Linked DNA regions of Homo sapiens: region 2 is linked to region 1. The links are contacts of gene promoters, found by promoter capture Hi-C in human tissues and cell types (Jung and others, 2019). All regions are on one chromosome and are shown on one strand. Each heading gives the region's core, a stretch centred on a gene start or on the middle of the fragment in contact. The rest is flanking DNA. Distances are from core to core; before and after follow the strand shown.

Evidence for each region. The method cuts DNA at HindIII sites, captures the fragments that hold promoters and counts their contacts. A contact is called where the count stands out against the background at its distance.
Region 2: a fragment that was not itself captured here is called in contact with the fragment with the promoter of GALT in region 1 in 1 of the 25 tissues and cell types used here (mesendoderm cells).

Annotation. Positions count from the first base shown.
Region 1 is chr9:34,641,076-34,647,924 of GRCh38, forward strand. GALT (galactose-1-phosphate uridylyltransferase) reads left to right here and starts at 5,600. Exons shown (of 11, transcript NM_000155.4): 1 at 5,600-5,711; 2 at 6,014-6,183; 3 at 6,417-6,492; 4 at 6,582-6,630; 5 at 6,757-6,849. The coding sequence starts at 5,630. RefSeq lists a silencer at 3,837-4,131 and enhancers at 3,837-4,131, 5,345-5,454, 6,025-6,204. The HindIII fragment of the contact is 1,689 bases long and covers 4,347-6,035 here.
Region 2 is chr9:34,411,189-34,417,278 of GRCh38, forward strand. The region is part of intron 1 of FAM219A (family with sequence similarity 219 member A); the gene reads right to left. LOC124902145 (a long non-coding RNA gene) reads left to right here and starts at 5,649. Exons shown (of 3, transcript XR_007061465.1): 1 at 5,649-5,782. The HindIII fragment of the contact is 9,827 bases long and covers 1-6,090 here.

The DNA of each region.
Region 1 (6,849 bases), core at 4,350-6,849:
TCAGCCTCCCGAGTAGCTGGGACTACAGGCACCTGCCACCACATCCAGCTAATTTTTTTGTATTTTTAGTAGAGATGGGGTTTCACCATGTTGGCCAGGCTGGTCTTGAACTCTGACCTCGTGATTTGCCCGCCTCGGCCTCCCAAAGTGCTGGGATTATAGGCGTGAGCCACCGCGCCCGGCCTATTTTTATTTTTTGAGACCGGATCTTGCTCTGTTACCTAGGCTGGAGTTCAGTGGCACGATCACAGCTCATTGCAGCCTTGACCTCTTGGGCTCAAGGGATCATCCTGCCTTGGCCTCCCAAAGTGCTGGAATTACAGGTATGAACCATCATGCCCAGCCACAAGCAAGTTTTTAAAGGCAAAAGAGGACAAGGAGTGGGCTGACACAAAATTGTTTAACAGGAATTCTCATTGGCTTACAGAAACAACATTGATTAGTGATTGGCTATACCTTGTTGAACTATAGGGTATGAGTTATGGTGTCTAGACTATGGCATTTTATGGCTATGTGGTATCAATTTAGAGCCCACATAGCAAGTGGCTTCAAGGGGTAATTATTTGGCTCCATGGGGGTGGGGGAAGGTGAGATATGACTGCTGTTACATGCTGTCACTTTTTTTTTTTTTTTTTTTTGAGACTGAGTCATACTCTGTCGCCCAGGCTGGAGTGCAGTGGCGCAATCTCGGCTCACTGCAACCTCCGCCTCCCGGGTTGAAGCGATTCTCCTGCCTCCGCCACCCAAGTAGCTGGAATTACAGGCACCTGCCACTATGCTCAGCTTTTTGTATTTTTAGTAGTGACAGGGTTTCACCATAATGGCCAGGCTGGTCTCAAACTCCTGACCTCAAGTGATCCCGCCCGCCTTGGTTTCCCAGTGTGCTGGGATTACAAGTGTGAGCCACTGCACCCGGCCTTTTTTTTTCTTTTTAAAATTATTATTATTATTATTATTATTATTTTGAGACGGAGTCTCTTGCACTGTCGCCGGGGCTGGAGTGCAGTGGCATGATCCTGGCTCACTGCAACCTCTGCCTCCCAGGTTCAAGCAATTCTCCTGCCTCAGCCTCCTGAGTAGCTGGGATTACAGGCGCCCGCCACCATGCCCAACTAATTTTTTGTATTTTTAGTAGAGACAGGGTTTCACCATGTTGGCCAGGCTGGTCTCGAACTCCTGACCTCGTGATTCGCCCACCTTGGCCTCCCAAATTGCTGGGATTACAGGCGTGAGCCACCGCGCCAGGCCCATGCTGTCACATTTTAATGCCTCTCTGGGCCTGATAATTAAAAGAGGCTGGCATTTCTCAGATAAAAAGTTTCTTTTCTTTCTCAAGAGTGATGGAATGGGCCAGGCACGGTGGCTCACACCTGTAATCCCAGCACTTTGGGAGGCCGAGGTAGGGGAATCACCTGAGGTTGCCAGTTCAAGATCCAGCCTGACCAACATGGAGAAACCCCATCTCTTCTAAAAATACAAAATTAGCCAGGCGTGGTGGCGCATACCTGTAATCCCAGCTACTCGGGAGGCTGAGGCAGGAGAATCGCTTGAACCTGGGAGGCGGAGGTTATGGTGAGCTGAGAGCACGCCATTGCACTCCAGTTTGGGCAATGAGAGCGAAACTCCATCTAAAAAAATTAAAAAAAGAGTGATGGAATGAAGGGTTAACACAGTGAAATATAATGGTGAGATTCAATGAGATGATGGGAAATGATCATTAGACTTCTCAGTAGGGGCATGTGGCAGAGACAATGCTATACATTCACAAATCCATTTCCTTTTGCTCTTGGACAGCTAGATTACATTCCACAGTCTACTCTGGATCATGTGATTGCATTCTGGCCAATGAAATATAGATAGAAATGATGTATGACATTTCTAGGGCTGGCTCCTAAAGTCTCCTCTGAAATTCTTTTTTTTTTTTTTCTCTTTCTCTTTTTAAGAGACAGGATTGTGCTATGTCACTCCCAGACTGGTATCAAACTCTTGGGCTCAAGTGATCTCCCACCCTGGCTTCCCAAGAGCTGGGGGACTACAGGCACATAGTACTATGCCCAGCTTGAAGTTCTTTACATTTTCTTTCTTCCCATGTCTATTACTGTAGTTATAGAGGATCTCTAGTGGAGTATTCTGAGACCCTAGGACATGGCATAGCTACTAGATGGATGGCACCTGGATCCCTAAATACTGCTTGGAACAGAGCTCCCTGTTACCCCCAGAATTGACTGTAGTGCTAAGCCATTGAGTTTTGGGAGTGTTTGTTACAGCAATTAAGATTACTTACCCTGACAAATATAGGGCAAAAGATGTGTTACAATATACCATGCAGCTAAGAGTAGAGACCAGAAAGATGGCCTCTGTTTTTAAGAAACTTGGCAGGCCGGGCACGGTGGCTCACGCCTGTAATCCCAATACTTTGGGAGGCAGAGGCAGGCGGATCACCTGAGGTCAGGAATTTGGGACCAGCCTGGCCAACGTGGTGAAACCCTGTCTCTACTACAAATACAAAAATTAGCTGGGTGTGGTGGTGCACGCCTGTAATCCCAGCTACAGGGGAGGCTGAGGCAGGAGAATCACTTGAATCAGGAGGCGGATGTTGCAGTGAGCCTAGATTGCACCACTGTACTCCAGCCTGGGCGACAGAGCGAGACTCCATCTAAAAAAAAAAAAAAAAAAAAAAAAAAAGAAACTTGGCAGAGAAATTAAGGATAAAGAAAGGATTATCTAGAGGAGAATACAGGATTGAGGGAACATGTTTTTGTATTGGTTCTGGCTTCTGTGGCATTCCCGACTCGACAATTCACTAAGAACCCTGGGCAGCAGGGATTAGCCCCCAAATTTGGTCTCTGCTCCCCATTCCAGGAACAGCTTTCTGGGATCATCTGGGCCTACACCTCCCCTATCTGGTCTTTCAGAAAGCTTTTCCAGGCCTTTCCAGGTGTGGTGACTTATGTCTGTAATCCCAGCACTTTGGGAAGGCCGAGATGGACAGATTACCTGAGGTCAGGCGTTCAAGACCAGCCTGGCCAACATGGTGAAACTCTGTCTCTAAAAAATACAAAAATTAGCTAGTCATGATGGTGGGTGCCTGTAATTCCAGCTACTCGGGAGGCTGAGGCAGGAGAATCACTTGAACCTGGGAGGCAGAGGTTGCGGTGAGCCGAGATCAAGCCACTGCACTCCAGCCTGGGCAACAGAGTGAAACTCCGTCTTAAAAAAAAAAAATTATATATATATATATATATATATATATATATATATATATATATATATATATATATATATAAATGGATAACCAGCAGCCCTCAGGGGTGCTCTGTCTATGGAGTGGCCATTTTTTTATTCCTTCACTTTCCTGATAAACTTGCTTTCACTTCACACTATGGACTCACCTTGAATTCTTTCTTGTGTGAGATCCAAGAATCCTCTCTTGGGGTCTGGATTGGGATCTCTTTACTGTAACAACACCTCTGGGATCTGGCAGGGAGGGAGCTGGTTAGGCCCATCTTAGTCATTCTCCTCTTCCTCCAAAAAATGACCTTGGGGAGTCATAGAGGAGAATTATGGAGATGTTCCTGAAGAGATGTTCCTGATGGGGGTCAGGATTTAATTAGCATGATTCAGGGGGCGGCACTGAAGCACTGGTGTTCTTGGGAAAATGGAGCTGTCTACAAGCTCTAGTCACTCAAACAAATATAAATGAGAGAATGGAAAAGCAGATCTCCTGTTCCTGTCTCACCTCTTTGGGTAATATGAACAGCCAGTGGGACAGGTAAAACCCCTGTTTCTCAGTCCTCAGCTCCCTGCCCCCTACCTCTGAAGGTAGCCTCTTCCTATTCCAGTCTGAGGACCCTAGGGCAGAGATCAAGTAAATGACCCATGACCTAGTTTTTGCAGCTCAATTGCAAAACACCTGGCTTGGCTTGGTCTTGATTGGGGGAAGGGATGTCCCTGCTATGGCTCAACTTCTAACTCACTGGGTCTCTGTCCTGCATTCCACTGAAGCCTCAGAGGCATCTCACAGCACTGGGAAAAGCCTTGGAAACTTGCATTCAAATCTCAGCTTGGCCACTAATTCTCTGGGTGACCTTGAGTCCTCTGGGCTCCAATGTGAAATGGGGAAGAGGTTTAGACAATATTTAGATGGCTCTTTAAAAGTACTGGGGGCCAGCTGTTTGGGAGGCTGAGGCAGGAGGATCACTTGAAGTCAGGAGTTCAAGACCAGCCTGGCCAACATGTGAAACCCCGTCTCTACTAAAAATACATAAATTAGCCCAGTGTGGTGGCACACAGCTCTAATTCCAGCTACTTGGAGGCTGAGGCAGGAGAATCGCTTGAACCTGGGAGGTGGAGGTTGCAGTGAGCCAAGATCACGCCACTGCACTCCAGCCTGGGTGGCAGAGTGAGACTCTCTCTCAAACAAACAAACAAACAAAAGTACCAGGGGAGGAATTAATTTGAATTTTATCCTAGTGTTAGCCAATTGGTCCCATCCAAGGAAAATTTAGAAAAGGGAAGGGGATGTGTAAAGGAAACACTAGGCCCCACCTAGATGGTGGCTGGAGCTTCTGATAGTCCTGTACTCTCCACATTTTTAGACTTTCTTGTACTTTTTTTTTTTTTTTTGTGACGGAGTCTGCTCTGTCGCCAGGCTAGAGTGCATGGGCACAATCTCGGCTCACTGCAACCTCTGCCTCCTGGGTTCAAGTGATTCTCCTGCCTCAGCCTCCCGAGTAGGTGGGACTACAGGTGCACGCCACCAAGACCAGCTAATTTTTTTTTTTTTTTTTTTTACTAGAGACGGGGTTTCACCATGTTGGCCAGGATGGTCTCAATTTCTTGACCTTGTGATCCGCCTGCCTTGGTCTCCCAAAGTGTTGGGATTACAGGCGTGAGCCACCGAGCCCGGCCATTTTTAGATTTTTTTTTATAGCCCTTTTACCCCTCCCACTTCTTGTGCTGTCTTGGTGTGTGTATGAAAAAGAGAGAGAGAGAGAGAGGAAGGAGAGCAAGAGTGAGAGAAAAAGAGAATATGGTTACTTAGCCCTTTTTCCCAAATCTGTTTTTGCTTTTGGGGATAGGATATGGTTATGGTGAAGTACTCCACACAGACCCCACCAAGTTTGCCTCTCCTGCGCTACAGCCACTGAGCAGGTGACTGAGGCGCTGTTGATCCAGGGTCATATCCTTACTCGCCCTAGAATGTAAGCTCAGGCAGGGCAGAGGCCATGCCTGACATGTGCATCCCAATGCTTTACACAGCCTAGGTGCCTAGCACATGCTAGATGCTTGGTAAATATTTGCTGAATGAAAGATCAAATGAATGATTGCAGCAAGCAAGTCCTGTAGGCATCCTGGAGCCCAAGGATTCTGCAGTAGGCAGCTTTCACAGAGGTTCTTCCAGTGTAGTGGCTCTAGCTCTGGGTGAAGTAGGATCATCAATGTCGGCCCCCAGGGTTCACAGCTGTTCTGAGCCCCGCCCCCAGGTGGCAGGGCAGCCCAGTCAGTCAGTCACGTGCTGGCGGCTGGCCAATCATCGGGGGCGGCGCGGGGAGGGGTGGTGTGGACGGAGAAAGTGAAAGGTGAGGCACGGCCCTGCAGATTTTCCAGCGGATCCCCCGGTGGCCTCATGTCGCGCAGTGGAACCGATCCTCAGCAACGCCAGCAGGCGTCAGAGGCGGACGCCGCAGCAGCAACCTTCCGGGCAAACGGTAACTGCACCGCGGCAGGGACTCGCTGGGGCGCGGAGCCGAGCCCTCCCCTTCCTTAGGAAGCTTTCGTCCCCTCCGAAGGTTGGAACGCTCATCCCGAGCCAGACCGACAAGGCGTACAGTCTGCAGGCCTGTACGAGCAGCAGGCCAATTGGCGCTGGGAAAGTCCAATCCTGGGCCTCTAGCTCCTGAGCGGGACAGGGCCGAGAGGGCGCTCCCGAGCTTGGGCCTGCTGGTGGGTGAGACCCAGGAGAGAGGGAGCTAGAGAGCTCTGAGGACTGATCTTGACTGTCTGCCCCCAGACCATCAGCATATCCGCTACAACCCGCTGCAGGATGAGTGGGTGCTGGTGTCAGCTCACCGCATGAAGCGGCCCTGGCAGGGTCAAGTGGAGCCCCAGCTTCTGAAGACAGTGCCCCGCCATGACCCTCTCAACCCTCTGTGTCCTGGGGCCATCCGAGCCAACGGAGAGGTAAGCCTGTAGAGCCCTGCATCTGCAGGCTGGGCCACGGGGAGTAGTTCCCTCTTAGAACTGTCCTCCACCCACAGGGATAGTGAACCTCCTTCTGGGTCATATCCCACCAAGCTTTTTGGTCCCCTAGGGTGGGCCTTCCCTACTCCCTTGTAGCCTGTCCAGTCTTTGAAGCCCACCAGGTAACTGGTGGTATGGGGCAGTGAGTGCTTCTAGCCTATCCTTGTCGGTAGGTGAATCCCCAGTACGATAGCACCTTCCTGTTTGACAACGACTTCCCAGCTCTGCAGCCTGATGCCCCCAGTCCAGGTAACCTGGCTCCAACTGCTGCTGGGGAGGAGGGTGGCTAGACCTCTTGAGGGACTTCTGCTGCAGAGAGTGATACTCCTTTACCTCAGGACCCAGTGATCATCCCCTTTTCCAAGCAAAGTCTGCTCGAGGAGTCTGGTAACTATGGATTTCCCCTCTTACAACTTTCAAACCAGAGTTGGAGACTCAGCATTGGGGTTCGGCCCTGCCCGTAGCACAGCCAAGCCCTACCTCTCGGTTATCTTTTCTCCCGTCACCACCCAGTAAGGTCATGTGCTTCCACCCCTGGTCGGATGTAACGCTGCCACTCATGTCGGTCCCTGAGATCCGGGCTGTTGTTGATGCATGGGCCTCAGT
Region 2 (6,090 bases), core at 478-2,977, 230 kb before region 1:
TCCCTCACTCCAGCATGATACAATTCTTTCATTTATTTAATGATGATAGGGCTCACAAATACAAATAGAAAAGAGTCCCAGCTGGGCATGCTGGCATGCACCTGTAGTCCTAGCTACATGAGGCTGAGGCAGGAGGATCACTTAAACTCAGGAGTTCAAGTCCAGTCTGCGCAACATATTGACATATTGAGACCCTGTCTTTAAAAATAAAAAAAAAAGGGCTGGGCACGGTGGCTCACGCCTGTAATCCTAGCACTTTGGGAGGCCAAAGCGGGTGGATCACGAGGTCAGGAGATCGAGACCACAGTGAAACCCCATCTCTACTAAAAATACAAAAACTTAGCCAGGCACGGTGGTGGGCGCCTGTAGTCCTAGCTACTCGGGAGGCTGAGGCAGGAGAATGGCTAGAACCCGGGAGGCGGAGCTTGCAGTGAGCCAAGATTGCACCCCTGCACTCCAGCCTGGGCGACAGAGCGAGACTCCGTCTCAAAAAAAAAAAAAAAAAGAAAGAAAGAAAGAAAAGAAAACAGTCCCATCTTTAAGAAGTTCCCAATAATTATTAATAAAGGTAACCAAGAGCCATATAAAAGTAGAGAGAATGGGACAAAGGGAGGGTGGTCAAAGGAGACACTTGAAAAGATCTTAAAACATTAGGTCACCAATTAGTTTAAGAGTGAGGAGTAAGGACATTCAGGGAACATGTGAAAAGTCTCAGAAGCATAAAACTAGCATAGTACATTCAAGGAATAGTCGGCATTTTGCTATAGTTGAAGCTCAGAAGGTATGGAGAAAAGTTGCAGGAAATCAAGTTTGTGGAGTCAGGAGGGGGCTCAGATCATGCTGGAAGGTGGGCTTTGATTTTTTTCTTTACTCAGAAGATGACGGGGAGCCAATGAAGCCTTAAGCAGGGAGTAACATGGTCAGATTTGAGATGGAAAAGGACCCTCCGATAGCCATGTGCAAGACGCCTGGGAAGGGAGTGAGATTGGAGGTAAGGATAATTAGGAAACTACTGCAACAATGCCAGCAAGAGATAATAGGGGCCTGAACCAAGCAGCAGCAGAAGATAAAAGAACAGAAAGGAAGATGTCAAAAAACAGTAGAATTGGCAGGCTTCTGATATAAAATGTAAAACAAAGGGTCTGGACATTCCTAGTTTACTGTCTGGAGGTAATTGGGAAGAGTACTAATTATTAAGACAAGTTATTAAATGCAGAAGAAGGCACAACTGCATTGCTAAGGAAAAATCAGATGAGTTCATTTGGGAACAGGTTGAATTTTGAGGTGTCTTTTGGACACCCAGATGATACCACTAGTTGGTAGGATTTGAAGTGTGGGAGCTCAGAAAATGGGTGTGGGCTGGTGGTGATGTAAGTCACAGTGAAGAATAAAGTCTCTCAGAATGAGCGGAGTGAAAAAAAAAAAAACCAAGGGTGAAGTTCTGGGAAATATCCAACCTTAGATAATGAATGGAGGAAGGAGACTGGGTAGGAACAGAGAGGAATAAGAGTAGAACTAGGAACCATTCAAGTAGAGTTTCAAGGTGGAAGAAATCAACAGTGTCAAATAAGCAGGTGGGTCCATAAGATAAAGACAAAATTTAGAAATAAGAAAGTCATAGGTAGTCTCAGTGAACACAATTTTAGCTGAAGAGTAGAAACAGAGCCCAGATGACAAGGGATTTAGGAGAGAATAGGAGATGAAGAAGCAGACAGAGTGACCACAGGCCGTTCTTTAAAAGAGCAAGACTGAGAAGGGAAGGAATGAGAATGGGTGGCAGCCAGAGAGAGCTTTAGAGTTCTAGAATTCCTTTAGAGCTAGGGAATACCAGACCTGTCCTAGACTGAGGGGAAGGAAGCTGTGTAGAAAAGGAGATGTTTGAGGGGGCATGGTCTTTGAGGAATCATGAGCAGATGGAGCCAGAACTTTGGACCATGGGAGGGAGTCTCCTTAACAAAACAGAAGGGAGGTAAGGAAGGTGAGGTGAGGAGAGGAAAGGAGGAAGGGAGGTGGGGGAATCAGATAACATGGAGGCAGAAAGGGGGTGGAAAGTTAGGGGAGTTCCTTCCTAAAAAAAACTCATTAGTAAAAGGAAAAAGGTGAACACTAAGGGGTTGGGAAAAAGAGGAATATTTGGTAGTTGGCCAGAGTGGAAGGAGATCAGACTGGCTGGGCTCTCAGCTACAATCCTCATCTGTCACCCAGCCATGATCCAGTCCCGAGGATGAAAGGCGCTCTCCGTGGTGCTGAACAATCTTGCCATTGTCTTGTGGCCTGAACATGATAATCCAGGGCAGAGACATGATTCAATATCAGCCTTCCCAAGAAGAGGTGACCTCTGTTCTCACCTCCAAGTACTAATTCTTAGGAAGATGAAAATGGAAATGGATTTAGAGTGACGTATGAAGAAGCAAAGCGCTCATACCAATACTATCTAACCCTTCTTCACAGAACACAGAAGAATTTTCCTTTAGTTTTAAGGCTAATTGGGGGAGGCAGTTCTGAGTTGGAGAATGCTGGAAGGCTACTTCTGGAATAAAGTCGTGCCTGTACCTGTTTATTTTCCCTGGATAATAGCAGGAGGCAGGATAGACAGAAAAGCAGAAAGCAGAAATCAGGGCCAGGAAGGATAGTGCTGATAAGAAATGGGAAGTCAGGGAAGGTGTGTGGCTCAGGCCACTCTCTGACAAGTGGGCACAGTAAAATAGAGCATCAAAGACCAGCTCTGTTCCTTATCACAAATTTATCCATTGGTCAGCTGAGAAACTTGGGGCTGTGGTCTTCCTGTTCAGGGCTATTCCATTCCAAAACATCTCATGGCAGTGTGTAGAAATAAGCATGTTTAGGTATCAACTTTTAGAGGGAGACCCAGCAAGTATAACTTAACTTCACTAAGTCCTCATGGTTGGGTAGAAATCTTGCCTCTGGTCCAAGAATAGTTAGTAGCAATCTATGCATTAGTTAGATGGCTCTATTTCCCTGCAGAGGGCTGTCCATTCAGCCTAAAGCATTCCCATCTTCTCTGACTCCACACCTCAACATATGAGTTATCTGGCCAATGACAGCTCTTACTCTGCAGTATGACCTGAAGTCACACCTCAACACATTGGCCATTTCTGAATCCCACTGTTGGGTAGCTCCTGTTTTTGTTCCCCATCTCCCTTTCTCCAAGTTTTCTCCAGGCACTGCCTGCAGAGCCAGGCAATTGGCCAGGACTTATGTCCTTTTGGGACATATTAAGATCCTTAGGGGATAGGTGCAGCAAACCACCATGGCACATGTATACCTATGTAACAAACCTGCACGTTCTGCACATGTATCCCAGAACTTAAAATAAAATAAAATAAAATAAAACAAAATAAAAAGGTCCTTAGGGATCCCACTTACAGGGAAAGACAAAGACTTCTTATAGGGATAAGGTCTTTGTGGGAGATCTGGAAGAGAATCAGGGAAACATAACGGAGAGGATCTCTCCAAGTGTTATTGGGTCTTACAAATGGGGGAGAACAGAAAGTCTGAAGAGAAAGTTTGTGAAGCCTACATTTAGGAGAGAAGGCAGAGAATCCTGGCTGGCCCAGGGAGTCTTCTCTTATCAGTCTAAATCTCCCAAATCTTCTAAGTTTTTCTCTAAAAGAAGACCCATTTCAAATAAAGTCAACACACTGAGTGTCCACTCTCCAGCTCTGGACTATGAGCTGGCAGTAGAATGCAGAAGAGGAAAGCATCTTTTCTCTTTCTTTTCTTTGTTTCCTTCTTTGTCATTTTTTCTTTTAGTTTTTTAGAGACAGGGTCTCACTCTGTCATCCAAGCTGGAGTGCAGTGGTGCTGTCACAGCTCACTGTAACCTTGACCTCCTGGGCTCAAGTGACCTCCTGCCTTAGCCCCCTGAGTAACTAGGTCTATAAGCACACATAGCCACTATGCCTGGCTAAATTTTTTTTTTTTTTTAGAGAGGGGGTCTCACTATGATGCCCCAGTTGGGAAAACACTCTTTCTTTCCACACACCACACTTCTGCAGAGCATTTGCATTTTGGGGTATGGTCAAGTTCACCAAAAAGAAATGGGAAGGATTATCACACTCGGGCTAGAGTTTGGGAGCTCCAACTGGTCTTGGGAGTAGCTGAGGATTTTCTGACTGCTTAAACAGCTGCTAGTATAGAATTCATTACTAAAAGTAAGCACCGCCAAGCCTTAGTATCTTTAATGGTATCTGTCACTGGGACAACCAAAATGGTGGAGGGTGCTACTGCCCCCAGGCCTAGTAACAACTGTAGCTATGAAAAGTTTTATAGATTTTTCTACTATAAAGTAATACATGCTAAAATTTTAACAAATCACCTTTAGTTTCACCACCTTGAGAAAAACACTTGATAATGTTCTACGGTATGTGAGTCTTTTGCGTATACTACAGCAGCAAAACTCTGGGGCTTCCCTTCCTTCTTTGGGAGTTGGTGCTGTTCCCATCTTCATGGTCATAGGAGTGAGCCTCTAGGAACTATGCTGGTTCTATGTGATTCCACCCAATTGGATAAATGCCTGGATGAGGCAGAGCAAATTAGTCTCCCCCAGAATCGGGAAGTGGGACTTAAATGGAGATGTAAAGTTCAAGACTGTGGATTAGGTAACAGAGAGAGCCATTGGGGAGGGAAACAAGAATACAGCTGATGTTCAGAAAGAAGTAAACACAAGAGATGGTGAGAGTGCTCCCTAGGTTTCAGTCTCTGGTTCTAGAGCCTGCCTTACCCATCCAAAGCTTGACTTCATGCTGTGCTTAGGCATTATAAGAAACCCAGCCTAGGCAAGATAGCAAGAAGGTGACTCTCCAAAAAGACAAAAAATTAGCCAGGTGTGGTGGCACACACCTGTAGCCCCAGCTACTCGGAAGGCTGAGTGGGAGGATTGCCTGAGCCCAGGAGGTTGAGGCTGGAGTGAGCTATGATTGTGCCACTGCATTCTAGCCTGAGTGACAGAGTGAGATCCTGAGAAGAAAGAGAAAAGAAAGAAAGAAAGAAAGAAAGAAAGAAAGAAAGAAAGAAAGAAAGAAAGAAAGAAAGAAAGAAAGAAAGAAAGGGGGAGGGAGGGAGGGAAGGAAGGAAGGAAGGAAGGAAGGAAGGAAGGAACGAAGGAAGGAAGGAAGGAAGGAAGCGGAGAGAAAAGAAAGAAACCCTAGTGTCTTCATAGTCTGTTCTCTTTCTTAGCTTCAGTTGGGTTTTTTATTTTGTTACTGTAATCAGAGAGTAGCAACTAATACATGTGCATAGAACAACATTTAAAGAACATAGTATATTTTGTGGCTGGGCCCTGTGGTTCACGCCTGTAATCCCAGCACTTTGGGAGGCCGAAGCAGGAGGATCACTTGAGGCCAGGAGTTCGAGACCAGCCTGGCCAACATGGCAAAACCCCTTCTCTACTAAAAAATATAAAAATTAGCTGGGTGTGGTGGGGTGCTGAGGCATGAGAATTACTTGAACCTGGGAGGTAGAGGTTGCAGTGAGCCAAGATCATGCCACTGGACTTCAGCCTGGGCAACAAAGTGAGACTCTGTCTCAAAAAAAAAAAAGTATGATTTTTTTATTTCTGTATTTTTAAAATTAGTATCAGAACATAATCAGCTCTCCATTTTTTTTTTTTTTTTTTTTTTAAATAGAGGCAGGGTCTTTCTTGTTGCTCAGGATGGAGTGCAGCGGCTATTCACAGGCACAATCATAGCTTACTACAGCCTTGAACTCCTGGACTCAAGTGATCCTACTACTTCAGCTTCCCGTGTATCTGGGATTACAGGTACATGTCACTGCACCTAGCTTTATCTTCTCCTTCTTCCTTCTTCCTTCTTCCCTCTTCCCTCCTCCTTCTTCCCCTTCCCTTTCCCCTTCCCCTTCTCCTTCTTCTTCTTTTTGGAGTCAGAGTCTCGCTCTGGTGCCCAGGCTGGTTGCCCAGGCTGGAGTGCAGTGGTGTGATCTCGGCTCACTGCCTCAGCCTCCTGAGTACCTGGGATTACAGGCATGCACAACCATATCTGGCTAATTTTTGTATTTTTAGTAGAGACAGGATTTTGCCATGTTGGCCAAGCTGGTCTCGAACTCCTGGCC